Linked DNA regions of Homo sapiens: all the other regions are linked to region 1. The links are contacts of gene promoters, found by promoter capture Hi-C in human tissues and cell types (Jung and others, 2019). All regions are on one chromosome and are shown on one strand. The core of a region is centred on a gene start or on the middle of the fragment in contact, and the rest is flanking DNA. Distances in the headings are between cores, read along the strand shown.

The links. Contacts are between HindIII fragments. The study calls those that stand out against the background at their distance.
Region 2: a contact is called between a fragment that was not itself captured here and the fragment with the promoter of KLHDC7B in region 1, in 3 of the 25 tissues and cell types used here (H1 embryonic stem cells, dorsolateral prefrontal cortex and lymphoblastoid cells).
Region 3: a fragment that was not itself captured here is called in contact with the fragment with the promoter of KLHDC7B in region 1 in 2 of the 25 tissues and cell types used here (IMR-90 fibroblasts and dorsolateral prefrontal cortex).

What each region holds. Positions count from the first base shown.
Region 1 is chr22:50,544,608-50,547,307 of GRCh38, forward strand. KLHDC7B (kelch domain containing 7B) reads left to right here and starts at 1,292. Exons shown (of 1, transcript NM_138433.5): 1 at 1,292-2,700. The coding sequence starts at 1,637. It overlaps KLHDC7B-DT (KLHDC7B divergent transcript), which reads right to left. Exons shown (of 4, transcript NR_199716.1): 2 at 1,767-1,861; 3 at 180-788. The HindIII fragment of the contact is 12,740 bases long and covers 919-2,700 here.
Region 2 is chr22:50,663,434-50,666,165 of GRCh38, forward strand. No RefSeq gene overlaps it. Among named protein-coding and RNA genes, the nearest start is that of SHANK3, 8.0 kb to the right of the region's middle. The HindIII fragment of the contact is 5,475 bases long and covers 1-2,732 here.
Region 3 is chr22:50,424,298-50,427,030 of GRCh38, forward strand. All of the region lies in intron 10 of PPP6R2 (protein phosphatase 6 regulatory subunit 2), which reads left to right. Among named protein-coding and RNA genes, the nearest start is that of MIR12114, 18 kb to the left of the region's middle. The HindIII fragment of the contact is 3,827 bases long and covers 1-2,733 here.

The DNA.
Region 1 (2,700 bases), core at 42-2,541:
CTCTGAAGGTTTCTGGACCCCAAACTTAACCAAGAGGCAGAGCCTGAGACTGGGACAGAGAATAAGGGCACGGTCTAGAAAGCCTTCCCTCAACTTGAGGTCCACCTTAAGGCATGGGGCCCACCCTCACCCTCTCCCTGTCATCTAATAGTCCCAGGGGGAGCTGGGAGGTGAGTTACCTGAGGCTCAGTAGGGTTCAGGCTGGGTGCCAGGGACACTCCTAGGCCATCTCCTTGCTGCTTGAGTAAGGGAGAAATCCCCAGGCCTGCTGTGTCCCAGAGGAAGGAAAAATACACACGGTACTTTCCAGGGAGCCCTGCCTTTGTCCCAGGGACTCCAGGCTCTTTTTCTTGTCTGAGCCTCACCTGGCACCTGGCCCGAGACACTCCTGAGATGGGATTAAGCAAGGAGCAGGTGGAGGAGCCCAGGCTTCTCCCTCAGGAAGCAAGTGCTCACATCCAACAGAAGTACCTACATGCCGGCCTGAGCCAGGGCTAGGAGGTACCAGCCAGGATGTGGTCTCGAGGGCGAGTCCTCAGCTCAGATAAGGGAAGGCTGAGGACTGAGATGAAGACACCCAGAGTCTGGCTATTAGAGCACCTGGGGCCAGAGGGGGGTGGTTTCTAAGGGATCCAGGTGCTGGCTGATGCGGTAACTGGAGTAGGGGGCAGGCTGGGCTCAGGGTTCTCCAGGGGCACAGTGAGAGTCTCATCTGGGCAGTCAAGACACTCTCGATGGGCGCAGGGGGTCCAGGAGATCCTAGAAGGTCTAGGTGGGCTGAAATAAGCCTGGCCATAAAGAGAGAAATATGTTTGGATTTTATTTATCCCATTAATTTTTTTTTTCTCTTGACTTGATAACCCTATCCCATGTCTGGTAAACCCAGAGTAAGGAGTCCAAAAGCTGCTGGAGGAGGAGCTATGGGAGCCTCAGTCTCCTCTCTATGCCCCCTCCCTGTGCCCCAGTACAAACCTCCACAGCACCCCTGCAATGATAATGCTCACTGCCAGGACCCGTGTCCAGGGTCTCCCTCTTCAGCCTGAGAGACCACCGTCAGGCACAGCCTGCACCCTCCCGTGCACGGCCCCCACCCCTCCCCTGCTGGCCCACAGTGGAATCAGCCTCTCCGGTTTCTGGTGATTTCATCAGGGCCACATCACATTGCTAGAGCTAGAGATAACATCTCCCTGTGGGTAACCCTTCCCTGCCAAGCCCCCTGAAGCTGGGCCCAGGCTGAGAGGAGGGACTGTGGGGTGTGGAATAAATTTAGGGGTGTGAGGGTCTACCAGGCAGAAGCAGGTTGGCTGTGATGACAGCACAGAGCTCAGGAACGCTGCCTGAGGACCCTGGGGCCTACGAGGAGGAGAAGAGGGCAGGAGCTGGTGGGGTGCTTGCAGAGACCCTGGGCTCCTATCCTGCCATAAGCCTCGCTGTCTCCTGATATCTGCAGCCAGGCCCTACTGACACCCCCAGGCCTGAGTGCAAGCAGAGACCCCACCATTCCCAGGCCCTGGAGGACTGGTCCACCTTAACTGGGCAGCCCTTGGGGCAGGCGCTGGCCGGTGCCTCAGCCCAGGCCTCTGTGCTCTGCATGCACTGCCAGCCTGCCATCAGGCCTCTATTGCAGCCCTGAACCATGATCCAGGGCACCTTGGAGCCAGATGGTCCCCTCTGGGGCTGGGACTGGGACAGTGACAATGACTGGGATAGTGCTGTGCTGGCCCTCCTGGCGCTGGCTGTGGTGGCTGCCACAGCGCTGGCCTTACACTGGTTTGGCTCCGGGCACGATCAAGAGGCGGCAGAACCGGTGTCCACAGCCCTCGGGGCTCAACCTCATCAGGCAGGAGGAGCTGAGCTGGCCCTGCAACCGAAGTCTAAGGTCAGTGATGGCAGCGAGGGGCAGAGCCCAGGGCAGGGGAAACCAGAGCCCCCAGGACGCGGCCAGCAGAGCCCTGTCCCTGCTGCAGCGCCGGGCGGGGGCCTGGCCGCCATGGCCCGGCTTCCACTCAAGACGGCTGTCGAGGAGGCCCGCAGAGAGGCATTAGGACAGCAACGGGGCAGTGCCACCCCCGCGGCCCCCCGAGCGGAAGGAAAGGAGCCTCCCAGGCCAGGCACTGCCCTCCTGGGCAGGAGCGAAGCAGGGGGGATGTCCGCCCCCCTCCTGATCCACTTCACTCCTCGGAGCCCTGGCAGCGAAGCGGAGGCGGAGACAGGTGGTGTCAGGGCGTCCTCTCGCCAGGCCGCAGGCCCCGCGGGGCAACAGGACACTGGCCCCTGGCAGGCGGGCGCGGGGCCCTCGGGCTCGATGGGGAGAGGCCGGGGCCGGCGGCGGCGGATGGACGCTGGCTCGGGAGACAGAGCCCGCCGCCCCCGGAAACTGGACCCGCTCCGCCTGGGCGCCGCGGGGAGCGTGTGGGACGCGGTGGACGGGGCCGCCGCCCTGGACGCCCACGCGCGCGGCCTCCCCACAGGACCCCCACTCGCCCAGGAGCCCGCACTCCCGGCGCTGCCCGCTCCCCGCGCCCTGCAGCCTGGGTCTCAGACGGAAGGCTCTGGGGCCAAGGGTGGCTGGAGCAGGGAGGCCTCGGGGGTCCCTGCCCCCGGAGGAGGCTGGCCCTGGGTCAGCAGGGAGGTCCCGGGCACCCGGAGCTTTGGCCCAGCCCCAGACTCCACGCGCCCCTGGCTAGAGAGTCCGCCTCA
Region 2 (2,732 bases), core at 32-2,531, 120 kb after region 1:
TTAAAAATGGTTCTGAAACAACTGGACATGCTCCCCCCAAAAAAATATGAACAGCTACCTTTTCTTGATACCAAAAACAAAAATTAACTTGAAATTAATGACAGGCCTAAATGTAAATGCTAAAACTACACAGCCTGGGCAACATGGTGAGACCCCCATCTCTTTTTTTTTGAGACGAATTCTCGCTCTGTAGCCCAGGCTGGAGCGCAGTGGCGTGATCTCGGCTCACTGCAACCTCTGCCTCCTGGGTTCAAGTAATCCTCCTGCTGTAACGCAGGCGTGCGCCAACGTGCCCACCTAATTTTTGTATTTTTAGTGGAGACGGGATTTTGCCATGTTAGCCAGGCTGGTCTCCAACTCCTGACCGCAGGTGATCCATGCGCCTTGGCCTCCCAGGAATTACAGGTATGAGCCACCACGCCTGGCCCCCCATCTCTTAAAAAAAAGAAATAAAATAAAACTATAAAACACAGGAAAATATTTTTGTGATCTTGTGGTAGGCAAAGATTTTTTAGAGTGAACCCAAAGAATATGAGAACGATTAAACAAAAAAGATAAATTGAATTCTATAATAATGCAAGACTTTTGTTCTTTGAAAGAGGCTATTACAAAAATGAAACGGCAAGCCAAGAAATTAGAGAACTTTTGCAATACATATATCTTATAAAAACTTGTATCCAGGGCCAGGCGCGGTGGCTCACGCCTGTAATCCCAGCACTTTGGGAGGCCGAGGCGGGCGGATCACGAGGTCAGGAGATCACGACCATCCTGGCTAACACGGCGAAACCCCATCTCTACTAAAAATACAAAAAAATTATCTGGGTGTGGTGGTGGGCCACTGTAGTCCCAACTACTCGGGAGGCTGAGGCAGGAGAATGGCGGGAACTCGTGAGGTGGAGCTTGCAGTGACCTGAGGTCGCGCCACTGCACTCCAGCCCGGGCGACAGGGGGAGACTCCGTCTCAAAACAACAACAACAACAAAAAACTTGTATCCAGATTATATAAGGAGCTCCTAAATTTTAATAACTCAAACCACTCAGTTTTTAAAAATGGCAATAGACTAGAACAGACACTTCACGAAAGAAGCTATGTGAATGGCCAATAAGCCATTCCCCAGCAGCCCGGACGTCCTTCTTGTGGTATGGCCGACTCTCTGGCTTTTGTTGGCTTCTTCATCTCTGATCCCATCTGCGTCATTCCAGTCATAACCCATTTGATGGTTCTAACATGAGGATGGATTTATTATTTAAAAATATACATAGTTCTAGGGCCAGGTGTGGTGACTCATGCCTGTAATCCCAGCAATTTGGGAGGCCGAGGTGGGTGGATCACTTGAGGCCAGGAGTTCGAGACCAGCCTGGCCAATATGGTGAAACCCCATCTCTACTAAAACTACAAAAATTAGCCAGGCATGGTGGTGCATACCTATAGTCCCAGCTACTAGGGAGGCTGAAGTATGATAATTGCTTGAACCTGGGAGGCAGAGGTGGCAGTGAGCCGAGATTGTGCCATTGCACTCCAGCCTGGGCGACAGAATGAAACTCTGTATCAAAAAAAAAAAAAATATATATATATATATATAAAATTTTTAAATCTTTAATTTTATAAGACTAGTCAAGCGCAGCACTGATAAGGGGAAATCAGTAGAACAGGGAATTCATTCTTTTTGTCTCTCCTGTGCTGTACCCTTAAACACGGTTATGATGGTGAACTGCATGTTATGTGCTTTTCACTACAATAAAAATAGGTACATAGATCTTAAATTGTCAGTGGCCTTTGAGAGAGTGGAGAGGTAAACACAGGCAAAACACATCGTCTTGAATGAAAAGATACTCGGAACCCTAAATGTGAAATTAACTAGACAAATATTTCTCACTTTTAATTTCACGTTTTTTTTTCCTTTGAGACAGGGTCTCGCTCTGTCTCCCAGGCTGGAGTGCAGTGGTGTGATCTCGGCTCACTGCAGCCTTGACCACCCAGGCTCAGGCGATCCTCCTGCCTCAGCCTCCCAAGTAGCCGGGACCACAGGCACGCGCCACCACGTCTGGCAAATGTCCGTAATTTTGTAGAGACGGGGCCTCACTTTGTTGCTCAGGTTGTTCTTAAACTTCTGAGCTCAAGTGATCTGCTCACCTTGGCTTCCCAAAGTGCTGGGATTACAGGTGTGAACCACCTTGGCCGGCTAATTCCACATTTCAATGTTAAAACAGTATTTTAAATTTAACACTCTTTCTAAGAATATACAACAAAGATCAGCCATCCCTTTACGCTGCTGTTTTGCTGCTAGATATGGAGAACACACTCATCAGAATACACTCCAAAATCTGAACTAGCTTTGATGATGATAAAATTTAGAGTGTTTACCAGGTACTAGGCATGTGCTAAGCATTTTACACACACGTACCTCATCTAGTCCACACAATGGCCCAGGAGGCTGAGAACTGACCTGTGAGCCTCTGAAGGCAGACACCTTGCATCTCAACCAGGCCTGCCATCTGGCCAGAATGAATGAGGAAATGAAACAGTTTGTACTATAGTCCCCAGCTTAGCTGAGCACACACGGAGACATAGGAAGGCTAGGAAGCTTTCCTAGGCCACCTGGGTATTTGGTGGCTGAGCTGGGCATTTGCTCCAAGTCCAGCTCTTGAACTTCTCTGGGAAATGTATTGTTCCTTGAAACCAAACTGCAGAAGTGCTATCAGATTTCAGGGACTAAAATTAGAAACTCAAA
Region 3 (2,733 bases), core at 188-2,687, 120 kb before region 1:
TCGAAGTGCTGTCTGGCTCAGTTCTGTCAGCGTGTGGAAGGTCTGTCCGCGTGTGGAAGGTCCGTCCGCGTGTGGAAGGTCCGTCCGCGTGTGGAAGGTCCGTCAGTGTGTGGAAGGTCCGTCCGCGTGTGGAAGGTCCGTCCGCGTGTGGAACGTCTGTCAGCGTGTGGAAGGTCCGTCCGCGTGTGGAACGTCTGTCAGCGTGTGGAAGGTCTGTCCGCGTGTGGAACGTCTGTCAGCGTGTATGAGTTCTGGGCACTGCTTTGGCTGTGAGATCCCAGTCTGCATCAGGGAAGCAATTACAAAAGAGACCTACTTTCCTTTTCCCTCTTCTTCTTTTTTTTTTTTTTTTTTTTTTTGAGATGGAGTCTCTCTCTGTCGCCAGGCTGGAGTGCAGTGGCGGGACCTTGGCTCACTGCAATCTCCGACTCCCTGGTTCAAGCGATTTTCCTGCCTCAGCCTCCCGAGTAGCTGAGATTACAGGCATGCGCCACCATGCCCAGCTAATTTTTTTTTGTATTTTTAGTAGAGACGGGGTTTCACCGTGTTGGCCAGGATGGTCTCAAACTCCTGACCTCGTGATCCACCCGCCTTGGCCTCCCAAAGTGCTGGGATTACAGGCTTGAGCCACTGCACCCAGCCCCTTTTCCTTCTTCAAAAGAATTCTGTCTTCCACTTTCTTCCTCTCTTTTATATTTACTGTGGTAAAATATCATAACATAAACTTGGCTGTTTTAACTATTTTAAGGTGTGTCACTCAGTGCATTCACAATCTTGTATAGCCATTACCATTATTCACATCTAGAAGTTTTTCATTTTCCCAAACAGAAACTCTCTCCGTTAAACACTAACTCCCCATTCATTCTCCCTCTCCACAGTCTCTGGCAACCACCATTGTCTTTGTCTCTGAATTTGACTATTCTAGGTACAGTTTATGAGTGGAATCATAAAGTATTATCTTTTTGTGACTGACTTATTTCACTTAGCACTATGTGCCCAAGGTTCATTCAGTATTGTACTGTATGTCCAAATTTCCTTCCTTTTTAAGGCTGAAAAATTACTGTGTGGGTGGGCCACATTCTGTCCATTCATCCATCCATCAGTGGAGACTTGGGTTGCTTCCAGCCTTGGCTATTGTGAATAACACTGCTGTATATGTGGGTGTACAAATACCTGTTTGAGTCCTTACTTTCAGTTCTTCTGAAAGTAAGAAGAAGTTCTTCTGGATAAATACCTATGAGGCCAGGTCATGTGACAATTCCATGATTAAGTTTTGAGGCCAGACCTTTCCACAGTGGCTGCACCATTTTATCTTCCTGTCAACAAAGTCTCCCCTTTCTCCTCATCCTCCCCCTCATCCCGCCGACACTTGTCTTCCTTCTTCTGATGCTCGTCATCTGATGTGCGTGTGGAACGGTGTCTCCGTGTGGCTGATGCTCGTCATCTGATGTGCGTGTGGAACAGTGTCTCCGTGTGACAAGTGATGTCGAGCATCTTCTCGTGCTTTTTGGCCATGTGAATAGCTTCGTTGGAGAAATGTCTATTCAAGTCCTTTGACCATTTTTGAATTGAGTTTTTTTTTTGTTTTTTTTTTTTAGTTTTAGAAGTTCTATATATATTCTGGATATTAATCCTTTATCAGATATATGCAAATATTTTCTTTGGGTTATCTTTTTACATAAAAAATTTTTTTTAGATGTAGGGTCTTGCAGTACAGTGATCATAGCTTCCTGTAACCTTGAACTCCTGGGCTCAAGTGATCCTCCCACCTCAGCCTCCTGAGTAGCTAAGACTGCAGGCATGCGCCACCACATCCAGCTAATTTTTATATTTTTTGTAGAGATGGGGTCTCGCTATGTTGATCAGGCTGGCCTTGAACTCCTGACTTCAAGTGATGCTCCGGCCGTGGCCTCCCAAAGTGCTGGAATTATAGGCGTGAGCCACCAGCCACCCAGCCTTTACTCCTTGATAATGACCTTTGACACACAAGTTTTAAATTTTGATGAAATCCAATTATCTTTTTTTCTCTGTTGCCTGTGCTTTCGGTGTCATATCCAAAAAAGTCATTGCCAAATCAGTATCATGAAGCTTTTCCTCTATGCTTCCTTCAAAAAGTTGTATGTTTTCTCTCTTATGTTTAGGTCTTTAATCCATTTTGAATTAATTTTTGTATCTGGTGTAAAGTAAGGGTCCAGCTTCATTCTTTTGCATGGGGTTATCCAGTTTTCCCAGCACTTGTTGAAAAGACTGTCCTAGGCCGGGCACGGTGGTTCACGCCTGTAAACCCAGTATTTTGGGAGGCCAAGGCAGGCAGATCACCTGAGGTCAGGAGTTTGTGACCAGCCTGGCCAATGTGGCGAAACCCCATGTCTACAAAAAATACAAAAATTAGCCAGGCATGGTGGCAGCGCCTGTAATCCCAGCTACTTGGGAGGCTGAGGCAGGAGAATCACTTGAACCTGGGAGGCGGAGGTTGCAGTGAGCCAAGATCACACCACTGCACTCCAGCCTGGGTGACAGAGCGAGATTCTGTTTCAAAAAAAAAAAAAAAAAACACCGTCCTTTCCCCCATGAATGGTCTCGGCCTAATTGTTAAAAACCAGCTGGCCGGCCGGGCGCAGTGGCTCATGCCTGTAATCCCAGCACTTTGGGAGGCTGAGGTGGGTGGATCATGAGGTCAGGAGATTGAGACCATCCTGGCCAACATAGTGAAACCCCGTCTCTGCTAAAAAT